Regions from separate parts of the Homo sapiens genome. Here regions 2 and 3 are each linked to region 1. Evidence: promoter capture Hi-C in human tissues and cell types (Jung and others, 2019). All regions are on one chromosome and are shown on one strand. The core of a region is centred on a gene start or on the middle of the fragment in contact, and the rest is flanking DNA. Distances in the headings are between cores, read along the strand shown. Region 1 holds the start of OR7D4 (olfactory receptor family 7 subfamily D member 4). Region 2 overlaps ZNF121 (zinc finger protein 121). Region 3 holds the start of ZNF560 (zinc finger protein 560).

What was found. The method cuts DNA at HindIII sites, captures the fragments that hold promoters and counts their contacts. A contact is called where the count stands out against the background at its distance.
Region 2: a fragment that was not itself captured here is called in contact with the fragment with the promoter of OR7D4 in region 1 in 1 of the 25 tissues and cell types used here (adrenal gland).
Region 3: the fragment with the promoter of ZNF560 here is called in contact with the fragment with the promoter of OR7D4 in region 1 in 3 of the 25 tissues and cell types used here (lymphoblastoid cells, mesendoderm cells and spleen).

What each region holds. Positions count from the first base shown.
Region 1 is chr19:9,217,804-9,221,588 of GRCh38, forward strand. It overlaps OR7D4 (olfactory receptor family 7 subfamily D member 4), which reads right to left and starts at 1,786. Exons shown (of 2, transcript NM_001005191.3): 1 at 1,397-1,786. It also overlaps a transcript of OR7E24 not described here. The HindIII fragment of the contact is 21,358 bases long and covers 1-3,199 here.
Region 2 is chr19:9,578,837-9,582,621 of GRCh38, forward strand. All of the region lies in intron 1 of ZNF121 (zinc finger protein 121), which reads right to left. Among named protein-coding and RNA genes, the nearest start is that of ZNF121, 3.8 kb to the right of the region's middle. RefSeq lists enhancers at 2,806-3,619, 3,620-3,785. The HindIII fragment of the contact is 5,310 bases long and covers 1-3,785 here.
Region 3 is chr19:9,496,748-9,500,532 of GRCh38, forward strand. ZNF560 (zinc finger protein 560) reads right to left here and starts at 1,869. Exons shown (of 10, transcript NM_152476.3): 1 at 1,791-1,869; 2 at 1,381-1,468. The HindIII fragment of the contact is 15,358 bases long and covers 1-3,785 here.

The DNA of each region.
Region 1 (3,785 bases), core at 536-3,035:
GCTGGGATTACAGACATGAGCTACTGCACCTGGCCGGATCATTGTTAATTAGGGGAAGTAAGGAAAGGAAAGGGTAAATCTTCTAGGCTGACAGAAGAGAATTCGAGATTGTCCCATGGGTCATTGAGCTTGTAAAGGAAGGGATTTGAGATGCCAGTGAGATGGGGAGCAGGGAATGAAAGCGGGATATGTATTTGATGACTAGAAATAGAACATCCTATATTCTTCCTCCTTGTCCCTTTCACATTGGTCAACTTATATTTAGTTTTAGACAGTGGTTGCGATTGTTTTGTCTCATCATTTAACAAGGATTTACGTGGTGCCCAGCACATTACTGATTCTGAGCAAGTACAAATTGAAATGTTCTATAAAGACTGGGACCAAAGCATCAACTATAACACAAAATAGAAATCTTCAAGTTTAAGACATGTTTGAATATAGACATAAATTTAATAATACAGTAAATAACATATTCATATCTCTTTTAAAATAATGATAAATGAAGTAGTAATACCAGCTCTAACAATGGAAGCAGGTTTAATGTAAGAATGTCTGCATAATTCATCACAAAAACAGGTCAGTAAAGAGAAATCATAAACAAAATCACAATAGAAAAAATGCATTTGAAAAAGATTATCAACCAGGGCAGATCCTCTCAATAAAGGAAGAAACCAAGGACAATTGCTTAACCCGATAAACAATGGTTGTTTTAATACCACAGGCAACAAGATATGCTATGTTAAAACAGTAAGGGGTTTAAATTCCTGGATACACCAAAGGCCGTCTACTACAATTTCAATCTTTTGATATTTTGGTGAACATGCAAATGGATTTTTTTTTGGGGGGGACATGGTGTCACTTTGTCACCTGGGCTGGAGTGCGGGGTGCAGTCTCAGCTTACTGCAACCTCTGCCTCCTGGGTTCAAGCAATTATCCCATCTCAGTCTCCCGAGTAACTGGGATTGCAGGTGTAAGCTAAGGTGTCAGGCTTTCTTTTTTTGTTATTGTTTAGTAGAGACAGGGTTTTGCCATGTTAGCCAGGCTGGTCTCAGGGTCCTGGCCTCAAGTGATCTGCCCGCCTCGGCCTCCCAAAGTGCTGGGATTATAGATGTGAGCCACTACGTTCAGCCAAGGGATTTTTAATATGAGAAAAAAAATTGGACTGCATGTTGAATGTCAGAAATAATTGTATTATTTCTATATGATATCATGGATACTAAGTTGAAATAGCAAAAACATAACAGCTAGTAAGTGCTGTAAATAAGTCACCATCTCCACCACATCAACCCTACCCCCAATCCCCAGACCACTCTGGGTCTGGTAACCAATAATCTGCCAGGAAAAATATAGAATATAATAGAAAAATCCAATCACATTAGGAACACATAGACAATACCTTGAGCATAGTAGATCTTCCGTGAGTAGTTAATGAATAAGTAACTGGATGTACGAAATTCAACAGGAGACTAAAGTTTATAGGAAAGAGTGCAGGAGAGTTAGAGACTGTTCGGAAAATAACTTATTAAAGACGGGCCCTGGATTCCAAGGAGTGAGAACAGAAGGTGGGAGACACTGGTTTCTGTGAAAACTAAAGTACCATCAAAGTACAGGGACTTCACCTTCATAGACTCAATAAGTATGGGACTTTCCAGGCTCATTACTGTGAAGGCTAGTACTTATTCTCTCTCCTCTTTTCCTTCTTACCCCACCAGCCCTCACTGGGTCACACTAACTCTGATGGTTATCACTGAAGTTTTCTCTTCTACACGATCTGTTCCTAGGAAGCCGTACTGGGTTTTTTCCAAAGGCTGGGAGCAGAGAATTACAGGTGAGGTTGTTTAAACAGGGGCACATTTTAAGTTTCCAGTGTCTCAAGAGTTGAATTCTCAGAGCACCTTATTAAATAAATTGTTCTATTTTCTTCCCACTCTCCAAAGAGTTTGGCTCCCTTTGAGTAGTAAGAAGATGATAGAATGGAAATTTTTCAGTTAATTTTGTGATGAAATAGGCAGTGGTAGGGCATGATGGATTTATTTCCCCCAAGAAGAAATTCTTTCTTCGGTTTAATTTGAAAGTCACAAGTTTTGCCCTAAGGAAAGATTAATTTCTGCAAGGAACTAAACTCAGGAATCATCTCCAAGCGATGTGACTCCCTTGAAGAGTCTTTGGAGATTTTATGGATCCCTCGGTGTTGAAAATTCATGGAAACAAAAATGTCTTTTCTTTTTAAATATTTTTTCAAATTATTTTTATATATTTTTTTAAATTATAGAATTATATGTATGTATCATGTACAACTTGATATTTGGAAATATATATACATTGTGGACATTCAATGTATCTAATTAACATACGCATTATCTCACAGAGTCGTTATCCTGGTGAGAACACTTAATATCCACTCTCTTAGCATTTTCAAAGAATATCATATATATCATCATTAACTAAAGTCATCCTGCTGTACAATAGATCTCTTGAACTTACTTCTCTTATATAGCTGTAATTTTGTATTCTTTTACTAACATCTCCACAACACCAACACTACTCCTCAACCCCAAACCACTCTGGGTCTGGTAACCAACATTCTACTTCTTTGAAATCTGGATTCTATTTCTCTGAGATCACCTTCGTTAGATTCCACATATGAGTGAGATCATGTGATATTTGTCTTTCTGTGCCTCCCTTATTTCACTTAACACAATGTTCTCTGAGTTCATCCATGTTGCAAATGACAGGATTTCCTTGTGTTTTATGGATGAATCATATTCCATTGTGTATATATACTACATTTTCTTTATCCATTCATTTATTTGCAGACAACTAGGTTGATTCTGTGTCTTGGCTACTGTGAATAATGCTCCAATAAACATGGGAGTGCGATATCCCTTCCACACACTGACTTCGTTTCTTATTGATATATACCCAGTAGTGGACTGCTGGATCATATGGTAGTTCTATTTTTAAGTTTTTGAGGAACCTCCATACTCTTTTCCATAATGGTTGTACTAATTTACATTCCTACCAACAGTGTAGAAGGGTTTCCATTTCTTCATATCCTGGCCAGCACTTACTATCTTTTGTCTTTTTAGTAATAGCCATTTGAGATGAAGTGAGGTGATATCTCATTGTGGTTTTCATTTGCATTTCCCTGATGATTAGTGAAGTTAAACCTTTTAAAAATGTATGTTGGGCCGGGCGCAGTGGCTCACGCCTGTAATCCCAGCACTTTGGGAGGCCTAGACGGGCGGATCACAGGGTCAGGCGATCGAGACCATCCTGGCTAAAGGTGAAACCCCGTCCCTACTAAAAATACAAAAAATTAGCCGGGCGTGGTGGCGGGCGCCTGTAGTCCCAGCTACTTGGGAGGCTGAGGCAGGAGAATGACTTCAACCCGGGAGGGGGAGCTTGCAGTGAGCCGAGATCGCGCCACTGCACTCCAGCCTGGGTGACAGAGCGAGACTCGTCTCAAGAAAAAAAAAATGTATGTTGTCCATCTGTGTGTCTTCTTTTGACAAATGTCTTTCAGGTCTTTTGCCCTTTTTTTTTTTTTTTTTTTTTTTTTTTTGAGACGGAGTCTCGCTCTGTCACCCAGGCTGGAATGCAGTGGCGCGATCTCCGCTCGCTGCAAGCTCCGCCTCCCGGGTTTACGCCATTCTCCTGCCTCAGCCTCCCGAGTAGCTGGGATTACAGGCGCCTGCCACGACGCCCGGCTACTTTTTTGTATTTTTAGTAGAGACGGGGTTATCACCGTGTTAGCCAGGGTGGTCTCGATCTCCTGACCCCGT
Region 2 (3,785 bases), core at 655-3,154, 360 kb after region 1:
GATTACATCAAACTAAAAACTTCTCCACAGCAAAACAATCAACAAACTGAAGAGACAATCTAGAGTATGGGAAAAAAATATTTACAAACTATCCACCTGACAAAGATTAGTAATCAAAATATATAAGGAACTCAACTTGATAGCAAAAAAAAAAAAAAAAAAAATCCGATCAAAAAATTGGCCAAAGGTCAGAATACTTGTTTCTCAAAAAACGACATACAAATGGCCAACAGGTATACGGAAAAAATGCTCAACATGGCTAAACATCAAAGAAATACAAATCACACATTACCACAATGAGATGTCATCTCACCTCATAGGGTGGCTTTTATAGACAGGGAATAACAAATACTGATGAGGATGTGGTGAAAAGATAATCCTTGTATGCAGTTGATGGGAATGTAAATTAGTACAGCCACTATAGAGAACAATACTCAGGTGTAGTGGCTCATGCCTGTAATCCCAAAACTTGAGGCTGTGGTGGGAGGATCACTTGAGCCCAGAAGTTCGAGCCAGCCTGGACAACACAGGAAGACCTGTCTGCACACATATGCACACATAAAACCTGTCAGTCACAGTGGCTCATGCCTGTAATCCCAGCTCTTTAGGAGCCCAAGGCAGGTGAATCACTTGAGGTCAGGAGTTCGAGACCAGCCTGGCCAACATGGCGAAACTCCATCTCTACTGAAAATACAAAAATTAGCTGGGAATTGTGGCGTGCGCCTGTAGTCCCAGGCAGGAGAATCACTTGAACCCAGGAGGTGGAGGTTACAGTGAGCCGAGATCATGCCACTGCATTCCAGCCTGGGCAACAGTGAGACTCCGTCTCTAGAAAAAAAAGAGAGGTTGATTCATGGGTAAAATACACAGTTAGAAGAAATAAGAACTAGTGTTCAATAGATCAGTAGGGTGACTACATTTAACACTCATCTATTGTACATTTCAAAACAGCTAAGAGAATAACTTGATTTTCCTGCAATAAAGAAAGGATAAATATTTAAGGTGACAGATATTCTACTTACCCTGATTTGATAATATAAATGCATCAAATTATCACATGTACTCAGAAAACATGTACGTCTATTATGAATCAAAAAACTTTTTTTGAATTTTCAAATAGAGGGTGGGAGATTCTGGGGCCACCATGTCTGTGGGTAAAGATATTCCCTTGTCAGCCAGGCGCGGGTGGCTCACACCTGTTATCCCAGCACTTTGGGAGGCTGAGACGGGCGGATCACGACGTCAGGAGATTGAGACCATCCTGGCTAACACGGTGAAACCTCGTCAATACTAAAAATACAAAAAATTAGCCGGGCGTGTTGGCGGGCACCTGTAGTCCCAGCTACTCAGGAGGCTGAGGCAGGAGAATGGCGTGAACTCGGGAGGCAGAGTTTGCAGTAAGCCCAGTTTGTGCCACTGCACTCCAGCCTGGGTGACAGAGAAAAACTAGTCTCAAAAAGAAAAAAAGAAAAAAAAAAAGATAGATATTCCCTTGTCTGGATCATGTAAAGACATTCCCTACAAAAAGACATTCCCTGCAAGATGTCCCTCCAAGTTACTTCACCTAATACCACCTACCACTAAAAACGAGCAATGAGCCATGATTATGCCATTGCCCTCCAGCCTGGGTGATCCAGCAAGACTCAAAAAAGAAAAAAAAAAAAACTCAGTATGGGGGTTTCTCAAAAAACTAAAAATAGAACTGTCAATAGAGCTACCACCCGTAAACCTCTTGAATTTTGGAGGCAACATATACATTTGTATGTGCTTTAACGCCCCACACAGTTGCCTGTAAGGATTCTAGTTTCAACTGTAGACAAGAGCAATTTCAGGCTGCACTGCAGGCTTCCCAAGCACTTGGTCCACCTGATCCAGCAGACCCAATGATACTCAACGTGTCCATGTTAAATGGCATCCTATTTATTGGAAGCCTCTGGCATACACCAACAGAAGATGTAGAGTAGAGGCCTCTGGTATTCCATAGTCAATCCATGCCCTCTTGTGCAGATTAACTGTTTCTCTTTTGAGAAACAGGTTGTGGTTTGCCACTACCATGCGATAGAGAATGAACAACTAATCATGGGACATGAAGTAACTAAGGCAGATCTGAGTAATTTGAGACTTTCTGGTCCCCAAAGCACGAAGTACATACTGTCAGCCCTTATCAAACAAAGGTTGTCAGCTTCTCCTTTAGGCCAAAAACCCCGAGTTTGTAGGAAATCGCATGAAATAAAGGAATATTTACACACACCATGAGAATCCAATCAGAAATATCTGATTGTATGACTTTCTAAGAGAATGAGTGTTAGGAATAACGCTCAAAATCCTAAGGAAATTGAACACTCGAACAAAGGATTCTTAGCAAAGCAATTTTACTTCTGTGCAGAGGGGTGCCTCCTTGACCAGTTGCCATGAGAGCACACCTGAACAAAGGGGCATGAGAGCCTTTACTCCTGATGCAAGTCCTGCCCCTGTACCCTTTCCCTATTGGCCGGGGTCAGGTCGTACAATCTAAACTAATCCCGGTTGGTGAAACACCTGATTTTTTTTAGATAGGGTGGGCACGTAGAAGAAAAGTGGAGAGGAAGGGGAAGGGATGTCTGTAGTGAGCTAGAAAGTCCTCTTTCTAAGTAAGGAAAGGTATGTGAGCTGGTACTGATAACGCTTTGTACTGTGGCATGCCTGGGCATCTAACAAAGGCAAAAAGGAGAAAAAAGGAGAAAAAGGGGGGGTACTATGAATTAGAGAATAAAAGATTGATGAGATTATTTGAAGAGAAACCTCATCATATCCTCATATCCCACAGTGTGACTCTCCAAAAGTCAATATAATATACAATAATAACTGTTCTAGGTAAAAAGACACTGAAAACATTAACAATTGCAATGTAAAAATCTTGAATGGATCTTAAACCCAAAAACATCCAAGAGCATACGTTGAATCAATGCGGAGAATTTTAGTTATTATAAAAAGCAGACATTAGATGACATTATTATTTTTTATTTAAGTGAAATACTAGTATTGTGGTTTCAGAATGACAGTGCTATTTTTTTAGGCGATGCATTACCAAGTATTTAAAGGTCAAGTATCACGTGTGCAATTATGCTCAATTTACACTCAAATTGTTCACCATAAAATGTATTTACCTGAGGTGAAAGAAAACAAGCACAATGCTCAAAAAGTAAGTGTTCAGGCACAGTGGCTCACACCTGTAATCCCAGCATTTTGGGAGGCCGAAGCAGGTGAACTGCCTGAGCTCAGGATTTCGAGACCAGCCTGGCCAACATGGTGAAACCTTGTCTCTACTAAAATACAAAAAAAAATTAGCTGGGCATGGCGGCATGTGCCTGTGTCCCAGCTACTAGGTGTCAGGCCTCTGAGCCGAAGCCAAGCCATCAGACTCCCTGTGACCTGCACGTATACATCCAGATGGCCTGAAGCAACTGAAGAACAACAAGAAGAAGCGAAAATAGCTAGTTCCTGCCTTAACTGATGACATTCCACCATTGTGATTTGTTCCTGCCCCAACCTAACTGATCAATTGACCTTGTGACATTCCTTCTCCTGGACAATGAATCTCAGGAGCTCCCCACTGAGCACCTTGTGATCCCCGCCCCTGCCCGCAAGAGAACAACCTCCTTTAACTGTAATTTTCCACTATCTACCCAAATCCTATAAAACTGCCCGACCCCTATCTCCCTTTGCTGACTCCTTTTCTGAACTCAGTCTGCCTGCACCCAGGTGATTAAAAGCTTTATTGCTCATACAAAGCCTGTTTGGTGGTC
Region 3 (3,785 bases), core at 619-3,118, 280 kb after region 1:
CAACATGGTGAAACCCCATCTCCACTACAAATACAAAAATTAGCTGGGCGAGGTGGCACGTGCCTGAAATCCCAGCTACTCAAAAGGCTGAGGCAGGAGAATCGCTTGAACCAGGGAGGCAGAGGTTGCAGTAAGTCGAGATCACACCACTGCACTCCACCCTGGCGACAGAACGAGACTGTGTCTCAAAAAAAAAATAGAATGAAATCCTGTCATTTTCAACAACGTAGATAGAACTGGAGGACAGTACGTTAAGTGAAATAAACCAGGCACAGAAACACAAAGTTGGGCGTGGTAAGCGGTGGTTGCAGTGAGCCAATATCATGCCACCGCACTCCAGCCTGGGCAACAAGGCAACATCCTGCCTCAAAAAAACTCTCAAAAAAAAAAAATCTTGAATAGAGCTCAGATCCAAAAACATTCCGTTATATTTTAGAAGAATTTGGAGAATTTTCATTTATTATACATAGTAAATATTAGATAACATTATTATTTTTAATTTTCTTGATGCAAATAGTATTACGGTTTTAGTAAAACAACACTCTTATCATTGAGTCAGGCATTACCCACTACTTAAATGTCGAGCTTACCATCCTGGCTATCACGGTGAAACCCCATCTCTACAAAAATACAAAAAATTATCCGGGCACGGTGGCACACCCCTGTAATTACAGCCACTTGGGAAGCTGAGGCAGGAGAATCGCTTGAACCCGGGAGGCAGAGGTTGCAGTGAGGCGAGATCGCGCCACTGCACTCCAGCCTGGGCGACACAGCTAGACCCCCTCTCAAAAAAAAAAAAAAAAAAAAAATGTCGAGCTTCATCTCTGCAATGAATTTCCCATTGACTCTCAAACTGTTCACCATAAAATTTATTTACGAGACGGCGAATACACAAAACGCTAAAAAACAGGTGCAGCTACAATGGATATTTATTCGTGGTACTGGATGGTCAACATACCCATAGGTTTAAGTTTTTTCGAAAAAAAATGCGGGAAAAATACACTTAGTACAGTCATCCTGTTAATGGTAAATTCGATTATTCTAGTATTAGTGTGTAAACCCTCCATCCTTTCTTCCAGGAAGCCTGGTTATGAAGCTCTTTGGAGACGTACAGAGCTAGGAACTTCAGATGAAAAGAATGGCTGAGTATTCTTAGGTTTCTTTAGTAGAAAGACTCGCGGTCTACAAACGTTTATATGCACATGCAGAAATACGCACACCCTAGACAACTAAGAAAGCACCTTTCTACCGGAACGTAATGTGTCAATAAAAAATATACAGGTTTCACAAAGGCAAAATGCCAAAATCTCACATGAAACACTCGTTTGCATAAAAAAGGAAGCAGCTGCCCCCTTAAACCAACTTTTTCCCAATGCTCACCCGAACACGGTGGAGTCGCCAGGTCCGTGGGGCTACAGGATCTTGGGGACGGAGTCAATCGAACGCGAACGGCAAAATTCTTTTCCCTCTGAAACACAATTCACAAACGTTGCCTTGGAGACTTATTTTTTAAGGCCTCAGAACGCTTGGACACTTTTGAAGACGGGAACACACGGCTGAAAACAGCCCTCGGACGCGCCCATACTGCACTTCCCACCCGGCTCCTCTAGGGGACCGAAGGTCCCAATGGCCTCTTCGACGTGGCCTCACCCGATGGCTCCGCGACTCCTGCGGACTCCTGTGGAGTGGTCCAGGCCTCTGTAAGGAGGTTCCTCGATTACCCTGGGTCGATTGTGACCTCTGCCACCCCCCGAAACACCGCCCAACCCACTAGTCCACACGAGCCTCACCAAAGTAGTGAACGACCAGACAACACAAAGGAAAAAGTGGCTCTGAGGAAACAGGCGCCAGCGACCAAAAGAGAGAACTGGCGCGCCGCAACGTCACTTCCGTTTGGGGCATTGGAAGGGGCGTGGCTCGTTGTGTGGGCAGTTGGACAGGATGGAACTCTTCAGGATTCTAGTTTCCCTCCGCGTGGGTGCGGAGGTATCAAGGGGTCGGCTCAGTGCCTGGGTGGGCAAGAGAGAAATGGACCCACAGAGAAAGGTGGGGGTTAAATCAGGGCTGTGGGCGGGGCCCATGCCCGGGGGCGGGGCTGGAGGTGGGACCAGACCCAGCCGGTGGCTTCGGTGGCAGAATGGACCAGGAAGGCGAAACGTCGGGCGATGGACTCGCCCCTCAGGATGCTCATTAGAAACTTTCCCCACGTTCCTGGACCCCTTTCAGGATTCTCTCCAGTTGATAACCTGCCAATCCACAAAATGGCCTGCTTCCTGCATTCGATCACGTCTTTAGAACTTTATTTTCTCTTATTTCTTTTTATTTATCTGACCTTGCTAAACTCTAATCATTGATTCCTCTGCGTTTTCAGTTATCGATACTTTCTGTAAATATTGCAATTTTTTTCTTTTCTTTCTTTTTTCTTTTCTTTTCTTTTTTTCTTCGAGGTAGGGTCTGGCTCGGTTGCCAAGGCTGGAATGCAGTGGTAGGAACACGGCTCACTGCAGTCTCCACCTCTCCAGGCTCAAGCCATCCTTCCACCTCAGCCTCCCGAGTAGCTGGGACCACGGGCGCACCGCACCCGGCTAATTTTTGTATTATTATTATTATCATCATTATTATTATTTTGTAGAGACAGGATCTAACCATGTTGCCCAGGCTGGTCTGGAACTCCTGGGCTCAAGTGATCTGCCCGCCCTGCACTCCCGAAGTGGGATTACAGGCGTGAGCCATCATGCACCATGCCTGGCCTTATTGTATTTTTTTTTCTTCTTCAACAATGTATTTGTTACTATTTCTCAAATCTTATCAAATGATTCAAAGCCTCCTGTACTACTTTATGAAATAACACTGATACCAGGCATTCTTCACTTATTCTGTGCAGAAAAAGAAAGGACTGTTGGACTTGTGGTAGAGATTTAGTTGAATCTTCGGGTTATATTGGTATCTTTATAATACTGAGTCTTCCTATGTGTGAATATACAATATCTCTCTATTTAGGTCTTCTTTAAACTCTTTCAGTAATGTTTTGAAATTTTCAGTTTACAAATATTTTACCTCTTGGGGTAAAGTTATTCCCATGTAACTTATTTGTAAAAGGGATCACATTCTCAGTTTCCTTTTCTGATTGTTCATTGCTGGTGTATAGATACAAAACTAATTTTCATCTCTTGATGTTGTACTGTGCAACTTTACGGAATTTATTACAAGCTCTGCTAGTTTTCTTGTAGATTCTTCAAAATTCTCTATATATCAAATATCACCTATAAATATATTTTTATTTGTTCTATTCTAATTGAGAAACCTTTTATTTTATTTTCTTGTGTAATTGCTCTGGCTAGAATTTCCTGTAGAGGCTGGGCACGGTGGCTCACTCCTGTAATCCCAACATTTTGGGAGGCCGAGGTGGGTGGATCACCTGAGGTCAGGAGTTCAAGACCAGCCTGACCAACATGGTGAAACCCCGTCTCTACTAAAGATACAAAAAATTAGCCAGGCGTGGTGGTTGGCACCTGTAATCCCAGCTACTCGGGAGGCTGAGGCAGGAGAATCACTTGAACCTGGGAGGCGGAGGTTACGGAGTTTGCAGTGAGTGGAGATGGCTCCATTGCACTCCAGCCTGGGTGACAAGAGCAAAACTTCATCTCAAAAAAAAAAAAAAAAAAAGAATTTCCTGTAGAATGTTGAATAACAATAGAAAAATCAGACATCTTTCTCTCCTTCCTGGTCTTAGGGAGAATTTTCAGGCATTCACTATTGAATATCACGTTAGCTGTGTTTTCGTA